Linked DNA regions of Homo sapiens: region 2 is linked to region 1. The links are contacts of gene promoters, found by promoter capture Hi-C in blood cells and fetal thymus (Javierre and others, 2016). All regions are on one chromosome and are shown on one strand. Each heading gives the region's core, a stretch centred on a gene start or on the middle of the fragment in contact. The rest is flanking DNA. Distances are from core to core; before and after follow the strand shown. Region 1 holds the start of PHF20L1 (PHD finger protein 20 like 1). Region 2 overlaps CCN4 (cellular communication network factor 4).

Region 1 (4,207 bases), core at 586-3,085:
ACCCATGATCTCCCACCTTGGTAGCACATAATTCAATAATTTTAATTTAACATACAGTATTACAAAAGAGACTGCTTTCTTATACTTTACATTCAACAAGCAATAATAACATGCTTTTGTTAACTGAGTATTTCTACTATATTTCAATTTAGACAGTGTCCACATTGATAATAAAAGTGGTTGTAATGCTAGAACAAAAACTGCAAAGGAGTACCTATGTATCCCTAGGTCATTCACATGCAAAGTACTATATTTTGGGCCACAGTGGCCACCGAGCACACTTGAGGTGGCCTCTTTTTCACTAATGGGTATGTGAGGAATATGAATACATTTTGAGATAACCTAATCAAAACATAACTCATAATTAAGAATGTAAATTGATTGTTATCAGGGGCGAGGAGAGATCCGTAAAATGTCTTTCGGTATTTGAGATCACTAATGACTATGTTCCCTACAGTTTAAAAAGAAAAAAAGAAACACACACACTTGTCATCTTTTATAATGGTTTTGTCACAATTCATAATAGACAAAATAGAACAACAAACATAAAATTCCAACTGCTCCCTCTTTTCTCTTTGAAAGAGTCTGATAGGTAAGGGAAAAAATAGCATCAATACTGGCCATGAAAATATGCGAACTCAAATACCCATGGTTGGAGGGGGAGAGTGGGTATCCTCCTGCTATGGTATAAGCAAATATTAGAGCATTAAAAAGTTAACAGGGAGCTTGCCCAGGGTGTAGCTGGTGCAAAAGAACAAATGTATGAATATTTTTAATAGAGGTCTTGTCAGTGCGCAACACGTAAGGCAGTTACTTAAATGTTTGTGTAGAAATCGAATCAACCTTTTCTGCTGTCTGTCACAGGAAGAATTCAGTAAGGGATAGTTCACAAGGTACACTAACATCTAGAATCAAACTTAGAGCCCATAATTAAGTGATGGATTGAATGAGTATAATCCCCCAGTGACACTTAGGGATGAAGTACCAGAAAAAAAACAAGATTTTCCTTTGTCTTAGGTTCGAAGAGGGAAGGATGAAGAGGGATTTGAATTAAGGAACTTTCATAAAGTAAGACAGTCTACTGGGAGTAAAACTTGAAGCAAAAACAAGGCAGAAAGCACGGAGAGGAGTAAAAACAGTAAGGAAAGGAGCAAAGAATGGCAAGAAATAGGACAGTGGAAGTTTTCGGAGATGACAAGTTAGAGGGAAGAAGAAATGAGCAAGAAGACATAGAGACCGACAATGTAAAGCAATGGTCAGAGAATGACCGCCAGGCCAAAAAAGGTGAGGAGGTGAGGCCAGACAGAGAGGGGGTGGCACGAGACAGGCAGGAAAGGCTGACAGGGCTGGCAGGGAGCTGGAGAAGCCTCCAGGTTTGACAGCCATCCGGCCCTCCGCAGGGGGGTAAGGAAGGGAGGGGAAGAGGGAGCTGCGGCGCCCAGACAATAGGGCCGGCGAGTTACGGGGAGGGAGGCGGGAGGGGAGCGGGCCGGAAAGAGAGACACCAGAATGGGGGCGTCCCGGGCGGCCCGGCGGGGGCCAGGCGGCCTGCCGGCTCAGCCGCCGCCGCCTCTTACCGACTCGGCCTCCTCTCTGCACAGCAGCCGGGCCGTCCGGGGCCGAGCTGGGGCACGAGCAGGGCGGCCAGCCCGGGCCTCTGCCTCTGCCTCCGCCCAGGCAGCGGCCGGGGAGGGAGCAGGAGCGGAGCGAGCTGGGGCCGCAGCGCCGGATCCGCCCAAGGTTTCGCGGGAGGGAGCTGGGTCCGAGCCCTCAAGCTCGCTCAGGGTCCGCTGCCATCGCCGCCGCCGCCGCCGCCTCCGCCGCCGGCCAGCCCTGACGCGACGCCGGGCCCCGGCGACGTCAGCCGCCCGCGACGTGCCGGAAGCGGGCCTGGCCTTGTCACGTGACTCACGAGGGTTGGGCCCGGGCCGCGCAGCCGATTGGCGGGCCGCCGTAGGAGGCGGGGCTTTGCGGTCGTTGACGGACCGCTAGCGGGCGGGGCTCTGGTTACTGGAGGAAAGAACGCGAGCTCTTGGTGCCTATTGGTAGTTGTGAAGTATTTGACCTTTGAGATTTGAGGACGAAGGGCATTGTTTATTATTCTTGATTCGTTGGGAACCACGTCACCAAAACCCCTTTACCCAGGACCCTTGGCAAACTTTTTCAAATGCATTACATGCTTTCTTAGATATCCATCCCACTCCACATCAAGAATAGAGCATGGTTACTACTACAAAATCAATAAACCTCCCTTGAATGGATGCTTTGTGATAGACACTAGGCTGTAAATATGTCACATGACAATCACAACTGTACAACTGTATTACAATTGTATTGCTTTCCAGTCTTGGAGATCTTTACAATACAAAGACGAATATTACTAAGATGTGTGTACGCGCGTGCTCAGGCACAGCTGAATAACCTTAACCTATGGCTACATTGATATCACTTCCCCAAGACTACACAGCTAATGATAGCAGAACTGCTTTTATCGAATACCTACCCTCCCAAACTTTACTAAGCACAGGAGACAGTATCCTTGCTGTGGGGAGAAACCAATAAGTGAACACATTGAAAATAATATTGAAATGAAACATCTTTTTTCTCTTGGTTTCCACTGTACCACTCTGGTTTTCAAGTGCAACGTTGCATACAAATGTCACTTATATTTATCTTGCTTCATAGTGTGGAGTTAAAATAGCAAAGTAACTCTCTTTAAGCTTCAGTTATAGTAAGATTTGGTAAATTAAACAATCATTCTTTTTTTATTCAACAAACATTCATTCAGCATCTACTAAGTCACTAATAGCTACTGAGCTAGACTGAGCATGGTGATACATAGAAAAGATATAAATAAGACAGTCTCTAGTGGATATTTGTTATAGAAAAGATATAAATAAGACAGTCTCTAGTGGATATTTGTTATCTTGTTTTTTGGTTGCCCAGCATCTCAACTCTCTTTCCATGTTTGAGAAATTTCTCATCATGGTTGCATTAGTTCAGAACACCAAATACTTGTAGCATCTTCCTTAGGACATGACAGGATTATACTTTCCACCCTCCTTAGAATTATGTATGGCTATTTGATTTGCTTTGGCTGATAAAATGTAATTAGAAGTGAGATTTGTCATGGCCAGTTGGTAATTTTTAATGCCAGCTCACCAAAGTTTCTGTCTCTGGCACAGTGTAAAGCACTGCTTGAGATGATAGCTGCTCTACCATCCAGGTTCTAGACAGATTATGATGAACCAAGGCCTCACTGATAATCTACAACTACTGTGTTGTATAAGGAAAAAAATAAATATTTATTATTTTAACTATGGAGATTTGGGTGCTGGATTGTTTGTTACATGGCATAATCCTACCCAAACTAAATGATACATCCACCTTATGAATCTTGGATGCAGAATCAACCTCCCACTAAATAAGATGAAAATATCAGAAACTCATGTTTCCAGTCTCCCTTGCAGCTAAAGTTCTAGCCTCAAGTAAAACTCTTTTACCAAGGACTTTGTATCAGAAGTTGCTAATGATGTTCAAAATAAGGAAACTTTTCTCCCACATCTGTGGCAGTACCAGTATTCAAGTTTCTGATGGTCAGCCTGGAGTTAAATCTTTCTGAACTCTGGCAGAACCCCTGCTGAATCACAAGCTAGTGACTGAGAAAAAATAAATATCTATTATTATACACCACTAAAAACTTGAGGTTATTTGCAATTTAAATAAAATACATACATAAAGAACAACAGATTCTGTCCATTCTCCCAACTATTTGTTGAGAATCCACCCTGGAAAGATGATTGTTCCATTTTAATTGGAACTTGACAATGGGTCTTCCAATAATGACACTTGAAAGAAAAAAATAAAATAAGGTCTTATGTAAATGATCCCTAGCTTCAGTGAATTGTATAGGCTTAGTAATCCTCTGTGGAGTTAATACCGTCCCCTAGAGGGCACTTTGGAAATGGAGGATGGTATTTTATTGTCTCAGGATTGGGGTAGGGCACTGCTACTATTTAGTGGGAAGGGACCAGGGCTGCTAGATATCCTGAAATGCACAGTGCAGTTCCATACCTTGAAGAATTGCCCCAGGTCATGCATGACTTCTAGATGTCCTTCCAGACATTCATGTAGGTGAAAAACCTGTTTATAATTGTCCCTGCCTAGAACTGCATTTCACATATAAGTATTTTTGGAAGGTTTTAAT
Region 2 (4,207 bases), core at 463-2,962, 450 kb before region 1:
ACTAGGATTAGAAGGATAAAGAGGAAAGGTAAGTCAGTTCCTCTAAGCTTATAGGTGTGCTGGGAACATTGATGAATGAATGCAGGAATCACTGAGTGAGAGAGGGAAAGACCTGAAATGGGAGGCATCCAAGGACAGGAGGGGCAGGGCTGACAGGAGCTGGAGCTGCAAGCATCTTGGGAGGTGGTGGGGAGGGAATTGCCCAGGAGGATAAAGAGGCTTTGGTTTTTGGGTCACCTCGGCTAGGCAGGGGCTCCGCTTGTGCTCGGTCAGAACAGGGTCACTGGGCCAGACACAATGGCAGACAGCTTCTGCCTCCCTGCTCCCCCCGTGACCCTCGTGTGGCCCTCCTGGGGAGGTGGTGGTGGGAGAGCTGCCTTGCTGCCCTGGGGCTGCTGGGGACAAAGCTTTCCTCCACGCCTCCTCCTATCCTCACAGGACTGCTTCTCCACCGAGCAATTTTGTCTCCTAGGGTGTATTTGGAAAGGTCTGGAGATGATTTTGGTTGTCACATCTCTGAGGGAGCGGGCGCTTCTGGCATCTAGTGGGTAGAGGCCAGGGATTAGATTGCTGGGATTTAGTAGTCATGCATTAGATTGCTACTAAACATCCTCCAGTGCACATGACAACCCCACCACAAAGAATTCCTTCATCCAAGATGTTGACAGTGCCGAGCTTGAGAAACCTGCCCCACACCGTCCCTGAGCAATCTTTAGCATATATAATTTTTTTTAAAAAAACTACCAATACTCTTAGAACTCCCACTCTATTGCCATTTTTCTACTGCTCTCTACTGCTTGCCTCGTAAGCACTTTCCTCTAGAAATGTCCTCATCTGCTGCCTGCCATGGCATCAGATGCTCCTGGTTTTCTTCATACATCCCAACCCTCCTCTCTGTTTCCCCATGCCTCCTCTTATTCTGCTCACCCTTCACATGTCAGCATTCCCAGACCTCTGCCTCAGGCCCCCTCTGTCTCACTGTGGATGTTACCCTCAGGCCATCCCAGCCATCACCACCAGCAGCTCCAAGCAGATGACTTCAGAGCTCTCCTATTTCGTCTCCTTCCTCCCCATAAAGAGAAACTGGAAGCTTCTCTTAAGATCCCGTGGGCAGGGCACTCTGCCTTAAACTCAGTCTGTTTCAAACAGAGTAGATCTCCCTTGGCCCAAATGTGCTCCTTCTCTTGTATTTGATCCTAGGCAATGACAAGCCCTGGGAGTCAGCCTCTGTCCCTCTTTCTTCTTCACCCCATGCATTAGATTGACATTAAGACCTTCAGTCTTACTCAAGCAATGCCTCTTGTGTCTGTTCCTTCTTCACTGCCTCTACTCCCACTGCCCTAGTTCAGATCCTCATTAGCCCATCCATCTATCCACCTACCCACCCATTCATCCATCCATCCATCCTCCATCCATCCATCCATTAATTGATCCATCCATCATTCACCTATTTGTCCGTCATCTATCCATCCAATCATCCATTTATTTATACATCTATCTACCTATTCATCCACCCATCCATTCAGTTCATCCATTCATCCATCCATCCATCCATTCATCCATCCATCTGTCCCCTCGTCTACTTATTTATACATCTATCCATCCATCCATCCATCCATCCTCCATCCATCCATTAATTGACCCATCCATCATTCACCTATTTGTCCATCATCTATCCATCCAATCATCCAATTTTTTATAAATCCATCTATCTATTCATCCATCTGTCCATTTATCAATTCATCCATCCATCCATTCATCCATCCACCTGTCCACTCATCTAGTTATTTATACATATATCCATCCATCCATCCATTCATACATTCATCTGTCTATTCATCTATCCACCCATCTACTCACCCATCTATCTATTTATACACCTATCCATCAATTCATCTATCCACTCATCAATCCACCCATCTATTCATACATCCATTTATCCATCCATCTATTAATCCACCCATTCATTCATCATCCTTCCATCCATCCATCATCCACCTATTCATCCGTCATCTATCCATCCACTCATCTATTTATACATTCATCTATTTATCCATCCATCTCTTCACCAATCCATCCATCCATCCATCCACCCGCCCATCTATCTATTCTTCATCCATCCATCTGCCCACCCATCAGTATGACAAACATTAATTGGATACCTGCTAAGTGTATGGCACTGGGCTAGATTCCAGTAAGCAGCAGTGAAACAATTGGGCCTGTCCCCACTCTTCTTTTCCAGGGCTTCCTCTTATCTGGTTTACCTGGCTGAAATCTCACCTGCCCACCCATCTTCATAGCAAGGGGGAAGCCCCAAATCATCATGAAGCTTCTACTAGACCCATCTCCTCTTGCTCATACCTCCTCTCCTCAGGTACCCACATACCTACCCTTCTTCCACCACCCATCCCTAACTCTTTAGTAGGATAATAATGGATTGCACTTTTAGGGCTTTGTTCTTTACAAAGCACTCCTCATTTTATGCTGGGAGGATCCCACAGGACAGACTAGACAGATGGGATTATTTCTGTTTTACAGATGGGGAAATAGGGTCTCAGGGGAGGTATGACTTTCTCAAGGTCACAAAGCTAGTAGGTAGTGGACTGGGGAATGAGTCATTCTATGGTGGTCAGAGTTCCAGGAGGGTCCACAACCCATTTGTAGGGTCCCACCCCCAGCCCACTCGGGCCCACACCCACCGAAGGCTCCTGTGTCACGGGGTGCGGTCTTGCGTGGCCTCTTGGCGTCGTCCTCACATACCCACTGCTCACAGCAGTGGCCAGGTATGCTCACGCGCCGCGGGTGGGGGCACCAGAGACGCGGGGGGCGCACTCGGAGGCACAGTGGTGTGCAGCCCACCGCGCCGTCGATGCACGTGCAGTTGTACTTGCAGTTAGGCTGGAAGGACTGGCCGTTGTTGTAGCGCACCCCATCCAGGACGCAGCCCACACCGACCACCTCTGCAAACACAGGTGGCCGGTCAGGCCCAGTGGCCTTGGTGCCCCTGGCTGGCCCAGCTGCCTTTATAGGGGCTCCATGTGGACCATGCCCCAATCCCGGGGATGGCTCCCAGCATGGAGGAGGAACAGAGGCACAAAGGCAAAGGCAGGGAGGTGTGAGAGTGCACAGGGCAGGGCTGAGTGTTTGGTGGAACTTCAGCAAAGGGAGTGCAGGAGTTCCTTTATAGCTTCAGCCAGCACCCAGGGAGTGGAAGGACGCAGCCTCCCGAGGGACTTGGCTGGTTTGCTCCCTGCAGGGTCCCCAGCACCAGGCACAAAGCCTGGTACTGACAAAGACCTGCCATTAGGGCTCATGGTTCTGAAGGTGACCGACTTGTAAAAAAAAAGCCAGAACACTTCGAAACACGTGTTCCATTCATTCCATACACATTCATGGAGCCTTCTATGTGCTGGGGACTCAATAGTGGACAAAACAGACAAAAGACATGCCCTCAAAGAGCTTATGCTGTGGAAAGGTCATATGGAATGTTGGCAGTTACAAGTGTCTGGGAGAAAAGTGGAGCAGGGAGGGGGAGTTGGGCGGGGGGAGACAGTTGCAAATTTATTAATAACCCTTTCCCTGTTTAGAAAAAAATGTTCAGCTAGCTGCCAGAGCTCATTTAATTTTACATAAACACACTTTTTGAGGTTAAAGCAAATCTGACTGATTTTCCATGTAAAAATAAAATATAAAAACTGTTTCTTGGAGTTCTTTCTAAACAGAACTAACATCAGAATTGTCTGAATCATCAGAATAATCTATTTCAGAAAAATCAGATTCATCAAGTGAATCCCAGCCAACTGTTGAAGAACAATTATGCATAGGAATGCTGGGTTTTCTAGGATTTGACATTTTCAGTGATCGAGAATTACTATATTTTGTAAATGGAAATACCACTCCTAAAAAAACACAATGCTGTAAATAGAATGATATCTTTTGTTTTTCAAAGTTGGTATTCTAGAATGATGTGAATAGAGTAACAAAAGTGAGATATTTTGTGGCAAAATTATTTTGGGGTAAATGCTGCAGCCTCTAGTGCTGCTGGTGAGTATTCTCAGCGCAACTGGGAATAGGGTTAAATCAGGTGGATGGGGAAGGCCTCACTGGGTGATGACGCTCAGCAAAGCCTGAAGGAGGTGAGGAAGGAAGCCCGCCCAGGGGTTGGGGGAGGAGCTTTCCAGGTAGGGAGGGGCCCACTTAAGTAAAA

What was found. The method cuts DNA at HindIII sites, captures the fragments that hold promoters and counts their contacts. A CHiCAGO score of 5 or more calls a contact.
Region 2: a contact is called between a fragment that was not itself captured here and the fragment with the promoter of PHF20L1 in region 1, in 1 of 17 cell types (fetal thymus). The highest score is 6.6, in fetal thymus.

The regions. Positions count from the first base shown.
Region 1 is chr8:132,773,016-132,777,222 of GRCh38, reverse strand. It overlaps PHF20L1 (PHD finger protein 20 like 1), which reads right to left and starts at 1,835. Exons shown (of 21, transcript NM_016018.5): 1 at 1,578-1,835. It also overlaps a transcript of TMEM71 not described here. RefSeq lists a silencer at 1,401-1,850 and an enhancer at 1,605-2,106. The HindIII fragment of the contact is 4,916 bases long and covers 1-2,722 here.
Region 2 is chr8:133,219,334-133,223,540 of GRCh38, reverse strand. It overlaps CCN4 (cellular communication network factor 4), which reads right to left. Exons shown (of 5, transcript NM_003882.4): 3 at 2,700-2,960. Among named protein-coding and RNA genes, the nearest start is that of CCN4, 30 kb to the right of the region's middle. RefSeq lists an enhancer at 302-803. The HindIII fragment of the contact is 1,239 bases long and covers 1,093-2,331 here.